Regions from separate parts of the Homo sapiens genome. Here all the other regions are linked to region 3. The links are contacts of gene promoters, found by promoter capture Hi-C in blood cells and fetal thymus (Javierre and others, 2016). All regions are on one chromosome and are shown on one strand. The core of a region is centred on a gene start or on the middle of the fragment in contact, and the rest is flanking DNA. Distances in the headings are between cores, read along the strand shown.

Region 1 (4,691 bases), core at 586-3,085, 4.3 Mb before region 3:
ACCAATGGCTACCTCAGACCATCCCGTATCCACTCGTGGGAGGCCCCTGAATGAATCTAAGGCCCCAGGGGTTGAACTTTACTGAGTAGGGAGCGCAGAGTACTAGGGACAAATTTACCGCCCGCTTTGAGGAAAGCTGATGTGGGAGCAGAGAGCAAGATGGATAGCAGCGGCCAATCTAAACGGGCAACGAAGTGCCACAGAGTGCTGCACGTAGGAATGCGAGTGACAGGTAGGGTCGTCTATTCCAAGTCCCTCCTCTCCCCTAATAAACTGCCACATTTCAGAAAACACGAAGACTGCTGAAGCCGTTTCCAGCCTTCGCTACGCATTAGCAGAGCAACTCAACAAGCCTGGGTGAAAGGCTTCTCGAAGAAATTCAGTTATCTCTACTGCCAGCCAAACACGGACTGGGCAGCTTTCCTCGGGGGCTGCTCGGTAACTGCTGAGCCGGGGGCGCGCTGAAGCCCTGCAGAAGCCCACACCCGCTTCAGGAATTCCGTGGATGTTCCCGACAGAGGTTTATTCCCGCCTATCCCTACAGGCCCACGGCGCTCTTTCCTCCAATCCCACACCCAGTCGAAGGCGGGGCAGCCGCCCCACCCAGCGGCCAGCCGGGCGGCCCCCAGTCTGGTTTAACTGGTTGGAACGACTAAAGCACGCTGGCGCAAGGAAAGCTCTCAACTTCGGGAGCTGAGGCGCAGGCTGGCCAGAGCGTGGAGAGGAAAGCCCTTTCCATCCTCAAGGCCGTTGCAGGAGATGCCCGCGAGCCACCTTCGCCAGCACCACACCGGGGTAAGCCGTCCGTCCCCGAAACCCGCAAGGCCACCGACTGCGCAGGCGCCTGCAGAGCACTGGCCCTCGGCGCGTTCTCTCGCGCTCTTCTTCAGTCTCCTCAGCGAGCCTGGGGACGAAGGGGGCGCGGTGCCTCCTGGGTGTTGTAGTTTGCTTCCTTGGCGAGAGGCCTTCGGGCTGGCTGGACGCCGGGGCCTTGGGAACTACGCCTCCCAGCGCGCCCCGCGCGAGAGCCCAGGTCGCCTGCCCTTGACGGCTTCAGCCGTCTGAGCGGAGAGGAGGATCCGGGAAGCCGGCTGCGGCGGGAGGAGGGAATGCGCGTGCGCGCTGGACCGCCTCGTCCCGTTCCGTCCCAATCATTGTAAACAGGCAGAGGCTGGGCGGGGTGGGAATGGGGCGCCCGAGGCCGGCCTGGGGCGCAGCGCAGGAGGCGGCTCCGGTGGCTGCGGCGGCAGCGTGAGCGCGAGGAGGCGGAGGCTGCGGCGGGGCGGACGGTCGCGCGGCGGCAGGCACAGGTCAGTCGCAGGGAGCGGTCGCGTGCTAGGGTCGCGGCGATACCCCTGGAGTGCCCGAGGAACCCTCTCCCGCGCCGGCCTCGCGCCCGCGTCTGTCAGGCAGCGTGTGGGGCTCGGTGCTCGCAGCGCTCGGGTTTGAAGTTGGGGGTGGGGGGCGTGGCTGCCCCTGGCGTGGGTTCCTCCCCGGAAAGCTTCGCCCCAGTTTTCGCCCCCCTTGGCCGTGCGTCCCTCCCACTGGCCGACGGGCCTCCCTTCGTGGCGTCCTCGTTTGTGGTGCTCTCGGGGGCCGGGGGTGGAGAGTTAGGAGTCCCCAGGCCTCGGGGAAGCTCTTGGGGGGCGCCTGGACAGAGGCTAGGGGACCCAGCCCTCACGGTTGGTGGATCGTGCCCGGCATAGTGGCCAGGCTCCAGGGCTTACCCAGGGGACCAGGACAGGCTCCTGGTGTCGCCCACCGCTGGCACTGAGCAGTGGGCGCCTTTGGGTGCTGCGATCCTTCCTTCAGGTTTCAGTGGGAATGGACAGACAGATCTGAAGTTGAAAATTCTTTTCACAACTCATGTTCAACTATGTGTGTTGTCAGAATGCTCTTAATGAGGTCAGTGTTCTCCCTCTTTTTTTTAAAACTGATCGTTGTGAGAGTGAAACAGGTTTTACAGAATATTTAACACCTCCGTCTTCCCTGAAGTAATTCTGCTGTTTCAAGTTTTGGGATTCAGTATTACAAAGCCTTCCTCTTGAGCAAGGCCTAGTACAATTCTTCAAGGTCCCTAGCATGTTAATTCGAGGTGTTTTGAACGTGCATATACAGGAAGTGCAGCCGTTTGGCCGTTGAGTTAGTGCTCCATCCAGCCTTGTTAGAAAAGCTTTCGCTGAATTTTTAATTTAGTGGAGTGGTCATGTTCTAATGCTGCAGTACTTTGGGGAGTATTCCATTATACTTGGCAGTTATTAACGAAATACTGAACTTGTGATAAGGTTTTGTTTTGGTGCTCAGCATTTCTAAATGAATAAGTGGGACTGTGAATAAGAAAGATCACCTCACTTTCTGTTTTTAGAGTTATTGTGGTCATTTGATAACTCCTTTCTGTCTTTGTGAAAATAATTACTGTAAGCTGGAGTGGCGGTAGTAGGGGTAGGAAGGAGGTCAGTAGAGTGGTTTCCACCTCTCATTCAAAGTATCTGGTAGATCCAAGTGGGGTAGGTTAGTTAACAGTAGCTTTTTTTTTTTTTTTTTAGTTTTTTATTTTTTGAGACAGAGTTTCGCTCTTGTTGCCCAGGTTGGAGTGCAATGGCATGATCTCAGCTCACCACAGCCTCTGCCTCCTGGGTTCAAACGATTCTGCTGCCTCAGCCTCCTGAGGGGATTACAGGCATGCGCCATCACGCCCGGCTAATTTTATATTTTTAGTAGAGACATTTTCTCCATGTTGGTCAGGCTGGTCTTGAACTCCCGACCTCAGGTGATCTGCCCGCCTAGGCCTCCCAAAGCGCTGGGATTACAGGCGTGTGCCACCGCGCCCTGCCAACAGTAGTAGCTTTTGAGAAGTGACTCTTTAAACAAGGTATCTCGAAACAATGTAATACAACTTAGTTTGCTTTCTCTTCAGGATATTGTTTCTAATTATGGATCTTATCCAGACTATTTCTCCCCTAATTTAGAATAGGAAAGTGGTATCAGAAAGTGCATAATAACTTTAATTTGTACAGTTATATTTGCATAGTTGTTTGCTTGGCAAGAAGAGATCGGGCCCAGCATGTAACCCAAAAGAATATTGTTTCTGTTTTGAAAGATCCCTGATAGAAACTTATGTTAGTTTGTATAAGAGGGTACAAGGAAAAATGCAGATTATTTAGAATACAGGAATTACTATGTAGAAAGTACTGTGACCAGGTGAAGAGGACTTAAAGATACAGAAGGCAGTGTTCCTGCCTTCAGGGTAGTTGAACCTTATCTCTTACTTTAACTGTCAACAAGTACAAGATTGTTTTGATTGAAGAACATATGCGGGTACAGTGGATGTACAAAGGAGATAGTGGTCAGTTTCTTAAAGTGAAGAAAAGAGCTGAAGAAGAGGGAAACTGTAAGGAAAAACTATGTAGAAGGTGATGAAAATCAGGAGTGTACAGGCATAGAAAGAATGGGCATTTAGGTAGAAGGAGCAGTGTGAGAAAAAGCATGGGAGTCTAAAATTAGAGAGTAGCATCTGCAAAAATAGCAAGTATAATACAGGGTGGTGGCAAGACCTGAAACTGGGGAGATAGGCAGAGACCAAATTATGGATCTTGCAGACCATCAGAATAATTACAATTTTATTTTATAAGCAAATAGGAGTCATTGAGAGGACAAAGAAGAGACCTAAGCCAGCTCAGCCCATTTTTAACCCTCTGCTATAGGTCAGGCACTGTATTAGGTACTGTATATTTTATGTCCTTAAGCTTAAAGAAGGCTTAGTCATGACTAATGCAGAAATTGGGGGGCTAGGGCAGGGATGGGGAAGGAACTTTTAGAGGGAAAGGTGGGCAGAAACGTAGGTGAGAAAGAACATGGAACACTTTTTTTTTTCCCAATACAGACACCATCACTCAGTTTTATTGGTTTTGTCTTATTAGCCTCTGAAGTAGGCAATTATTGGTGTGAACATACATTTTGAAAAACATCTGGAGTCAAGAGTGCACGAGTGTCAACTCAGTGCAAGTACTGTTGGTAAGCATTATGTCCCGAGGATGAAATCGGAGGACCAACAGGCCCAGGAGGCTTCACAGCGAACACCACATGCCTCGCGCCCAAAAGGACAGCAGACCGCGCTTCAGAACGGAACCGCCTTCTCCATGTAAACTTTTGACGTAAACTGTGTGCTTCAGGGTGGCCTCTTCTTCTCCGAGATCCTCTCCTGCGTCCCGAGTTTGGGAATGGCCCGGCCGTGCTCAGGCCCAGGCGGTGGAGGCCTCGGTGTAGTAGTGCCGTGCTTGTCGACGTTCCCAGGAGTCCGGGTTCAGAAGCCCCCTCTCCGGTGGATTGGCAGCTTCGCGGTAGCTGGGCTAGTCTTCCTCTGGAAACTCAGTAAAAAGAGTCGGCGCTGTCCGCCTGAGCGCGGGTTTCCTACCGAGCTAGAGGCCAGCCTGCCTCAGGCGCAGAAGGGTTTGCCGCCGGCCTTGGTCAGGGCGAGCAGCTCCCTGGTGGCGCCCAGAGCTGGGGTGTCCTGGGGCGCGGCAGGCGGAAAGGCACGCGCGGGCCAGGGGTGCAGTCAGCACAGAATATGGAAGAGAATGGGAAGTTGTTTTCTGTAGCTGTAGCATTAGTTGTGGTGATAAGTAGCAGAAGATGAGGTTGCAGGTATCCTCAAAAGTATTGCGTGCCATTCCAAGGACCTTACCATTTTT
Region 2 (4,335 bases), core at 1,109-3,608, 3.8 Mb before region 3:
TCTTAAACAAAAACAAAACTTGAACCCCCATTTTAATAAACAATTTTTTTTGTATTCTACCTTAATGATAATTGACATCTCAAAATAAATTTTGTGAATAGGAAGAAATCACAGTAAAGGTAAATTTAGAATATGCTTCAAACTACTTAAGCACTCTATCCTCCTGCATCCGGAGTTGATTCCTTCCAGTGGGTTCCTGGTCTTGCTGACTTCAAAAATGAAGCCCCGGACCTTCACGGTGAATGTTACAGCTCTTAAAGATGGCACAAACCCAGGCCAGGCGTGGTGGCTCATGCCTGTAATCCCAACACTTTGGGAGGCCAAGGCGGGTGGATCACTAGGTCAGTCCTGTAATCCCAGCACTTTGGGAGGCCAAGGCGGGTGAATCATGAGGTCAGGAGATCGAGACCATCCTGGTTAACACGGTGAAACCCCACCTCTACTAAAAATATAAAAAAATTAGCTGGGCATGGAGACAGGCGCCTGTAGTCCCAGCTACTCAGGTGGCTGAGGCAGGAGAATGGCGTGAACCTGGGAGGCGGAGCTTGCAGTGAGCTGAGATCACGCCACTGCACTCTAGCCTGGGGGACAGAGCGAGACTCCCTCTCAAAAAAAAAAAAAAAAAAAAAGAAAGAAAGAAATGATGGCACAAACCCAAAGACTGAGCAGCAGCAAGATTTATTGTGAAGAGCAAAAGAACAAAGCTTCCACAATGTGGAAAAGGACCCAAGCAGGCTGCCCCTGCAGGCTGGGGTGGCCAGTTTTTATTGGCTTATTTGTCCCTGCCCATGCCCTGCTGATTGGTCCATTTTACAGAGTGCTGATTGGTCCATTTTACAAACCTCTAGCTACCTACAGAGTGCTGATAGGTGCGTTTTTACAGAGCACTGATTGGTGCATTTTACAAAACTCTAGCTAGCTACAGAGTGCTGATTGGTGCATTTTACAATCCTCTTGTAAGAAAAGTTCTCCAAGTCCCCACCCAACCCAGAAATCCAGCTGGCTTCACCTCTCACTCCCAGGAATTTCAGGGCTGAAAACACATTCCTCGTGGGTGGCACAATCTTCTGTGAATGCCAGGCTAGCAATTCCAGCAGGCTGTTCCTGGATGGACCCTAATACCTGGATCGCACATGAAAACTTGGATTTGGTGCCTACTTCTAGACTGCTGTTTCGTCTCGTTTATTTTCTAGACAAACTGTGCTGCTCCATGGCAGTAGCATCAATATGTCTTTTGTTTCGTGGCGCTACCTAGGGATTTAAATTCAAACCGTATCACAAAATACAATAAAGGTTTATTTACAGCACATTGGTTTCATTTGACGTTCCTGTACCGGACTACCCTGGCAATCGGCTAAAGTTTTGTCAGCAAGTTTGCTGCTGGGATTTTTCTTATTTGGTTCAGTTTACTACAGCCTATCGTAAGTGATGCAGATGGAGTTAGTTTCTAACATGTGAACGTGAGAACTGTTTTGGTTTGGGTCCATCATTAAAACTGAAGAAGATTATTTGGGTTCGATGGTGTAGATTTTTGACTTTTATTTCTAGTTTCTGTGTGCTTTGTCATATTTCCCCTTGCTTCCTAGACGAGGTGTGTTTCCTTATCTGATTTTGCATCACTGGAGAGAACTCAGGAAGCAGGAGAGGCTGAATTGGATACCACGGGGAATGCAGCCCTGCCAACAGAGGACTGGATAGAATTAGAGCAAACGGACACATCCCCCCACGCCTGTTCTCCACAGGGCAGATTTTATTAATATATTTCTAACATTGGGGCCTCGTTTCAGTCTTCAAGTTTTTTCTTTTTTAGCGCAAACTAGACGCGCTCTGAGAGCCAAAATTAGCGTCCGCGAACCCCACCCCATTGCCTCCAACAGACCTAGCTCTCCTTTCCACCCTCAAACAGCCGTTACTACAGTTCCCAGCAAGCACCGCGCAGGGCCGCAAAGGGCCAGGCCCTCGGCGAAGGCCCCGCCCCGCAGGGGGCATGCCGGGAGTTGTAGTGAGTGGGCGCTTCCCTACTACTACTTGTCCCTTCCACTGGGCATTCCCACTTGGAAGAGTGTGATGCGCTGCCAGAGCAGTTTCTCTAGTTCCGTACTCGGAGCTCAAGGTGACAGAGGACTGCGCTTCCAGCCCTGCGCTGCGCATCGCGTCGGTCCCGCGGACCTTTGCCCCGCCTCCTTCCACACCCGTTCCCTTGACAGCTGGGCTGCGCTCCGGGCCGCGGCAAGCCGCGAGCGCGCAGGCGCAGCAGCCCCGCGCCGCGCTAGGCCGGCCTGGAGGGCGGGACAAGCGCTAGAAGCTCCCGGCCGGGGGCGCGCACGTAGGCACGCAGAGGCCGTCACGTGGGTCGCCGAGGCTCGCAAGTGCGCGTGGCCGTGGCGGCTGGTGTGGGGTTGAGTCAGTTGTGGGACCCGGAGCTGCTGACCCAGCGGGTGGCCCACCGAACCGGTGACACAGCGGCAGGCGTTAGGGCTCGGGAGCCGCGAGCCTGGCCTCGTCCTAGAGCTCGGCCGAGCCGTCGCCGCCGTCGTCCCCCGCCCCCAGTCAGCAAACCGCCGCCGCGGGCGCGCCCCCGCTCTGCGCTGTCTCTCCGATGGCGTCCGCCTCAGGGGCCATGGCGAAGCACGAGCAGATCCTGGTCCTCGATCCGCCCACAGACCTCAAATTCAAAGGTAGGCAGAACGGGGACACCCCCGGGTGGGGTGGGGCGCGCGGACCGCTGGCTGTCGGCGGGGGGGCGCGGAGGGCACGTCCGCGGCCCTGGCCCGAGGGAGCGCCCCCTCCCCCACGCCCCGGCGCCTTCCCTTTCCCGGCTGCTTTCTTGCCGCCACCTCGGCCGGCCTGCCCCTTGCTCCGGCCCGCTTCATCCCCTCCCGCCCGCCCTCGCTGCGGTGCGCGCGCCGGCCGGGGCGAGGCGGAGGGGAGCCCGGCCCTGGCGCCGCCGCCGCCGCCATCTTGCGGTCCCGCGGGGGCGCCTCCTGGGCGTCCGGTCCCGCCCGCGCCGCGGTCCGCCTGGGCCCGCGTCCTTGGCCCCAGAGGCCGACGGCGTGCTTCGGCGGGGCGTGGGCGGCTGGGCACCCGAGGGCGTGCGCTCTGGGCTGCGGCGGGGAGTGGGCTCTGGAGGTGGCGCAAGCTGCGTCTGTCGCCCGCTCCCGGCTGTCAGCGGCGCGGGGAGGCTAGGGCACGGCGCGGGACCCCTTGGGAGTGAGAGCCGCCCCCCGACCCCTGCCCCGGCCCGGGGAGAGCTCGCTGCAGCCGGCCCTCGGGTTCCGCGGAGGGCGTCGCTTGTCACCTTTCCGCCAGGTTTAGAACTCGGCCGTCAGGTGTAGGACGCGCCGGGGAGGTGGAGAGTCCTTGGAGGTGCCTGGCGAGGGCTGCCCGGTGCTGTTGGCACGGACCCAGGTGCGTGCGGGCAGGAGCGATGCGTCAGCCGCAAACGGAGAGTTGTAGGTTCATAGTAGCGGGGCTTCCTGCCTTCTACGACATTTCAGTGTGCCACCCGCGTGCTTTTATTTAGCCCTTTAGTTGAGCTCCTCTGCTGAGAAACCTTCAGTGCGTGTGACTTTTTTGCTTTTACGTTTGCGGTTTCCGACAGATCCTGAGAAGGCTGATAAGGTGTCACCCAGCTCTGGAACTTTGTAGGTTTTTGTAGTACTGCCTGTGATAAGTTTTTTAGTCTGACTTGGTGATCCTGGAAGAATCCCAGGGGCTTTTGGTCGGTTTCCTTGTCAATATGTAGTGTACTTTAGGAAAGAGAGTTAAAATGTACAGATTTTTATTTTTTTTCTTTGTTTTTAAGGAATACTGAAAGAGTGTGAACATCTAATAGAAAGTAGGTTCCTTCCTATCTTTAGTTAAGTGTAAAGTGAGTCCCGTTTTGGAAGTCTATGTCTTGTATTTCAATTGTTGAATGAGAACAATTTTTGTGAGGTGTATAGCAATTCTAGTGCTAAAAGAAAAAATTAAATCCTTTATTGTTGTGTAAGGCTGAGTCCAAGAGAAAGCCAACTACATTGTTTTCCATAGGAAAAACTTCAGGTTTAGGAATTTAAAATATATTCTGGAATTATGAGATTAATATTGCATAACTACATTGCAAGCTTTTTAGTGCGTTTACAAATTTCTTTGAATAGAAGTGTAAGTGAGCTACTTGTTGGGTAAGGATTTGGTTTTAAGGTGCAGTGAATGTATTTTATTGCAAGTTTATGTAAGTTGTGTGATTTTTACGTAGTTGTAGCTGGGGGAAAACCTTTGAGGAATTATGAAGAGTCCTGACTCAGCCATTATCTTGAGATAATTTAATGTAAATCTGTATGGTGTGTTTTTTTT
Region 3 (4,676 bases), core at 1,313-3,812:
AAACAATCTCTATGTTTCAAAAATATGATCTTCAACTCTACAACAGAAATCACACTTTAAAATTATACCTCTGAGAGAAGTACTCTCACTTTCTTACAAATGGGTTGAAATAAATCCTGCAGGTCCTTTCCTTGTCTTGGTGGAGCTCACATTCCAGCAAGATAACATCCTTATCTAACTATTTTCTCTCGGGACATCATAACCCAGGCATTAAGAAGTATCAAAACACTTTCTGAAAAATCTACTATTTGCTAGGCAACGTCCAGTTCTGAGTATGATCTTCTAGCCAGCACTGTTTCATTATTAGCAGAGTCTGGTCAATCAGCCAGACTGCCTGGGTCCAAATCTTGATCCCACTACTTAACAAGCTGCATGATCTTGGCCAAGTTACTTAACCCTCATCTGTAAAACAAACACTCATAACTATACCACTGGGTTCGGTTAGAATTAAACGAGTGCAAATGAATAAAGCACTAACCTTGGCACCTAAAAGGTACTCGAGTATTAGCTATTATTATTTTAATGTCCAGAAAACCAGAGATTACTCAGGCAATAATGAGGGAAAAATAACACCAATGGTAACTTTAAAATCATTTTTATCTGGCTCATTTACTTACATTAACTGCTTTCAAGAATCCTTCCCCTCTATTCTCAAATGAATTTACACAACTTCTAGTTAAGTTTTATAAAAACTGAAAAATGTAATCTCTATATATCCCATCATCGTGGAGTTTTCATAAACACATAGTTAAGAGGCTTTTAATCTAATAACTTTTTTTGTTTTGTTTAGTTTTTTTTGAGACAGTCTCGCTCTGTCGCCCAGGCTAGAGTGCAACGGCGCAATCTCGGCTCACTGCAACCTCCGCCTTCCGGGTTTAAGCGATTCTCCTGCCTCAGCCTCCTGAGTAGCTGGGATTACAGGCACGCGCCACCACGCCTGGCTAATTTTTGTATTTTTAGTAGAGACGGGGTTTCACCATGTTGGCCAGGCTGGTCTCAAACTCCTGACCTCGTGATCCAACCGCCTCGGCCTCCCAACGGCTGGGATTACAGAAGTGAGCCACTGCACCCGGTGTTTAAAAACATTAAAACATGTTTTTAAAAGTCAAAATTACACTCATTTTCTGTAAAATTACAACAGCAATTATCTCAAGAAACTTAAGCATCAGGAACAGGGAATGTAATTGCCTGGTTCTAATGCTTGTATATGCCTATAATGCATTCGATCTGTAAGACCTACACTTTTGCAGTTGTCAATATTCATGTAATGAGATTAATTCTCAACTTACCTCATTTCATATAATAACAAATACAAGCAGTCATCAGAAATTGATGGGTCATCCTTATTTGTGAAAAATAGGCCTCATTCTTGGTTCAAAGTTTGTAACCTCAAATGGGCTAATGCCCACAATTTAGAAGTGATTAGATTGGAAAGCACAACGCTGCAAATGCTGCCTTCCCCAAAGCCAGGTCTATTCATTAATATACCTGTGCCTACTGACAAGAAGGAAGGCTGGTAAAGCACATTTTCAAAGCTGTTTTAAATGGATCAATTTTGGTAAAGAGTAATTCAAGACGGATTGTAAATCTGATCAGTTTTACAACCTTGGAAGGTGGGGACTTGACGCACGACGTTAATATGCACACGCTTCAATAATCTATCCACAGGTAGTTTTGACCCTGATCTCAGGTTGAAAGTCCTCAACTATGGAGCTTTCGAGTTTCAGTACAGTAGGCGCTTTCACTCCCCAGTAGAAATCTGGGGTGATGGCCAAAAAAAGTGTGTTGTCTCCCCCAAACCACACCATGCCAAGTTCAGCCAACGCAGACTAATGCATCCTTAGGTATTTGTCAAGAAGAGGTATAGGCGGTCCCTTTTCTCAGAATCTAACAGGTAAGAATGGCCTCTTGTGGCTTCCCAAACACGGCGGTAAGGACCAGTCTGCCAGTCCCTAATAAGAAATTGCTAATTTTAAAAACCATTCCGAACGCGGGCGCTTCCGGGCCCCTCTTCAACTGGCTTCGGAAGAAGGGGGGAGAACACGGTGAAGGGTTACAGCAAAGGAGGCTGAAAAACAGTCCCAAAGCAAGATTTGCCAGGACACTGGCTCGACCCGGAAGGGCGGGGGGACCTCTCTCGGCCGCCGGGGTCTGTGGGGTCGGCGAGTGTGGACGACCCGTCTGGCAGTCGTACACTGCCACAGCCCGAAGAGCGGCGCACGCGGAGCAGTTGCCGGGTTCGCGCCGCGAGTCAGCTCCCGGACACACGCCCAGGGTTGAAGGTGCCCTCTAGACCCCTCCCGCTGCCCCACAGAGGCCTGGGCCCATGCTACCTCTTAGGACGCTGGAGCCGCCGCCGCCGCTTCCCGCCGCGCAGGCTGGACCACAGCTCCTCGGATGCCACGGCGGTGTCACTCAGCAGAGCAGCCCGACAAAGCGTGGGTCCGCGTGCAGGAACCCGCCGGGCTCAGCCGGACGCTAGCCCCCTGCCGCCCCCGGCCCCGCCAGCCGCGCCCACTAGCAACGTGCTCGCGACCTCCAGTGCCCGCTCAGTGAAGCTTCTGCATGCCGCGCGCGGCACGTCGGGACTCGTAGTTCCGGCGCGGAGGACGTGCGTCGCGGCACTCTCGCCTGACCGTCTCCACGTGACTCTCGCACCTCCGGAAGTGACGTAAGCAGACACGCGTGGCGCGGGCCGCCGTTTCCGCAAACAGAATCGCGTTTGGCTGTGCTGGTGAGTGTGACGGCTGGAACTCCGGCCCTTCCTTTCTTTGTGTTTGTCCCTCGGCCGCCGTGGAGGGGTGGAACTGGCACTCCCACCCCTGACATGGGCTCACTTCGCATTAGCCCTGTGCTTCACTACCCAACGCGTGGGTCTATTGCCTTGTGTCCTCAGTCCCAAGGAAAATGGGAACTCCTTGGGGTGGGCGGGCGCTGTTCCTCCTCCAGACTGGGCGAGCCCGGGTGGGAGAAGCAGCTCGAAGAGCTGCTCCAGCTCGCGCCCCAGGGCCGTGCTGGGGAGGGGCGTGGGGTCCGCAGGTTTGTCTTCAGCGGCGCTTCGGAAACCTGAACCAGAGGTTGAGTAACAGGCCGCGCTAATGACGGAGGGGGTGAACTTGGCTGGAGAAGTCCCTTCTCGCCTCTGTGCGTCCTCTCGGGCCCCGTGGTAGAGGGTCAAGCGGGCGGGTCGGGACTTAGAGCTTATCCCGCTTGGGCTTTATCCCGGCGGCCCTGGCGGCCTGCTCGCTCGTACCCTGAGGAGCTGAAATGACGCAGAGACATAGCTTGCTTCGGAGGTGTGACTGGAAAGCCGGGTCGAAATGTTCGTGTGGTTATTTATCGCGTGTCCATCTCCATGTCAGTCGACCACCTTTCGAAGGTTTCTTGAAGATTCTGAGGGACAGCTCTCTTCCCTATGGAGTGTTTTCATTATTCCACTTTGAGTTTGGTTTGGGTTTTTTTTCCCCCAATTTGTTAAATTGATACATAGAAGTTGCACATATTTGCAGGTGCAGGTGATACTTTGATACATGCATACAATGTGTAACGACTAAATCAGGGCAATTGGGATATTTGTCATCTCAAACATTTATCTTTATGTTGGGAACATTCCAATTTTTCTTTTAGCTATTTTGAACTACACAATAAGTTATTGTTAACTGTGTCCACCCCACTGTACTATCAGGCACTAGATTTTATTTCTTCTGGGGTTTTTTGTACCCATTAACCAATTTCTCTTCTTCATCCCGCTCCTCTTCCTGCTACCCTTCCCAGTCTGTGGTAACCACCAATCCACTCTTTACCTCCATCAGGTCCACATTTTTAGCTCCCACATGAGTAACAACATGATATTGTCTTCATGTGCCTGGCTTATTTCAGTTAACATAATGACATCCGGTTTCATCCATGTTGTTGCAAATGACAGGATTTCATTCTTTTTAATGACTAATATTCCATTGTGTATATATGCTACATTATCTTTATTCATCTGTTGATGAACGCTTAGGTTGATTCCATATCTTGACTATTGTGAATAAACTTGAGACTGCAGATATTTCTTAGATATACTGATTTCCCTTCTTTTGGATCTGTACCCAGATTTGCAAAACTGTTCATCGGACAGGGGATTAACAACCAGAATATAGAAGAAACTCATCTCAATAGCACTAGTTCTATTTTTTGTTTTTTGAAGAACCTCCATCATACTTTTCCCAGTATGTAAATTAGTGGCTGTGCTAATTTACGTTCTCCCTAACAGTGTACAAGTGTTCCCCCTTTTCTGCATCCTGCATCCTCATCAGCATCTTTTTTTTTTTTTTTTTTTTTTTTTTTTTTTGTGTGTGTGTGTGTGTGTGTGTGTGACGGAGCCTTGCTCTGTCGCCCAGGCCGGAGTGCAGTGGCTTGATCTCAGCTCACTGCAACCTCCACCTCCCGGGTTCAAGCGATTCTCATGCCTCAGCCTCCCGAGTAGCTGGGATTACAGGCGCACATCACCATGCCCGGCTGATTTTTGTGTTTTTGGTAGAGACGGGGTTTCACTATGTTGGCCAGGCTGGTCTAGAACTCCTGACCTCAAGTGATCTGCCCACCTCCACCTCCCAAAGTGCTGGGATTACAGGTGTGAGCCACCGTGACGGCCTCAGCATCCATTTTTTAAAAATCTTTTTGATAAAAGC

What was found. Contacts are between HindIII fragments. The CHiCAGO score rates a contact against its expected background, and 5 or more counts as called.
Region 1: a fragment that was not itself captured here is called in contact with the fragment with the promoter of FAM210A in region 3 in 1 of 17 cell types (fetal thymus); the score reaches 6.4 in fetal thymus.
Region 2: the fragment with the promoter of VAPA here is called in contact with the fragment with the promoter of FAM210A in region 3 in 1 of 17 cell types (non-activated CD4 T cells); the score reaches 5.4 in non-activated CD4 T cells.

What each region holds. Positions count from the first base shown.
Region 1 is chr18:9,474,382-9,479,072 of GRCh38, forward strand. It overlaps RALBP1 (ralA binding protein 1), which reads left to right and starts at 1,132. Exons shown (of 10, transcript NM_006788.4): 1 at 1,132-1,310. It also overlaps the pseudogene IRX4P1. RefSeq lists a silencer at 1,063-1,472 and enhancers at 1,096-1,964, 1,703-1,762. The HindIII fragment of the contact is 672 bases long and covers 1,500-2,171 here.
Region 2 is chr18:9,911,658-9,915,992 of GRCh38, forward strand. VAPA (VAMP associated protein A) reads left to right here and starts at 2,359. Exons shown (of 6, transcript NM_194434.3): 1 at 2,359-2,678. The coding sequence starts at 2,600. It overlaps LOC124904245 (a long non-coding RNA gene), which reads right to left and starts at 2,291. Exons shown (of 2, transcript XR_007066284.1): 1 at 2,055-2,291; 2 at 1,276-1,676. RefSeq lists silencers at 2,294-2,343, 2,554-3,343 and an enhancer at 2,861-3,478. The HindIII fragment of the contact is 3,402 bases long and covers 703-4,104 here.
Region 3 is chr18:13,723,996-13,728,671 of GRCh38, forward strand. FAM210A (family with sequence similarity 210 member A) reads right to left here and starts at 2,563. Exons shown (of 4, transcript NM_152352.4): 1 at 2,334-2,563. It overlaps RNMT (RNA guanine-7 methyltransferase), which reads left to right and starts at 2,678. Exons shown (of 12, transcript NM_003799.3): 1 at 2,678-2,734. RefSeq lists an enhancer at 1,741-2,666. The HindIII fragment of the contact is 3,253 bases long and covers 2,557-4,676 here.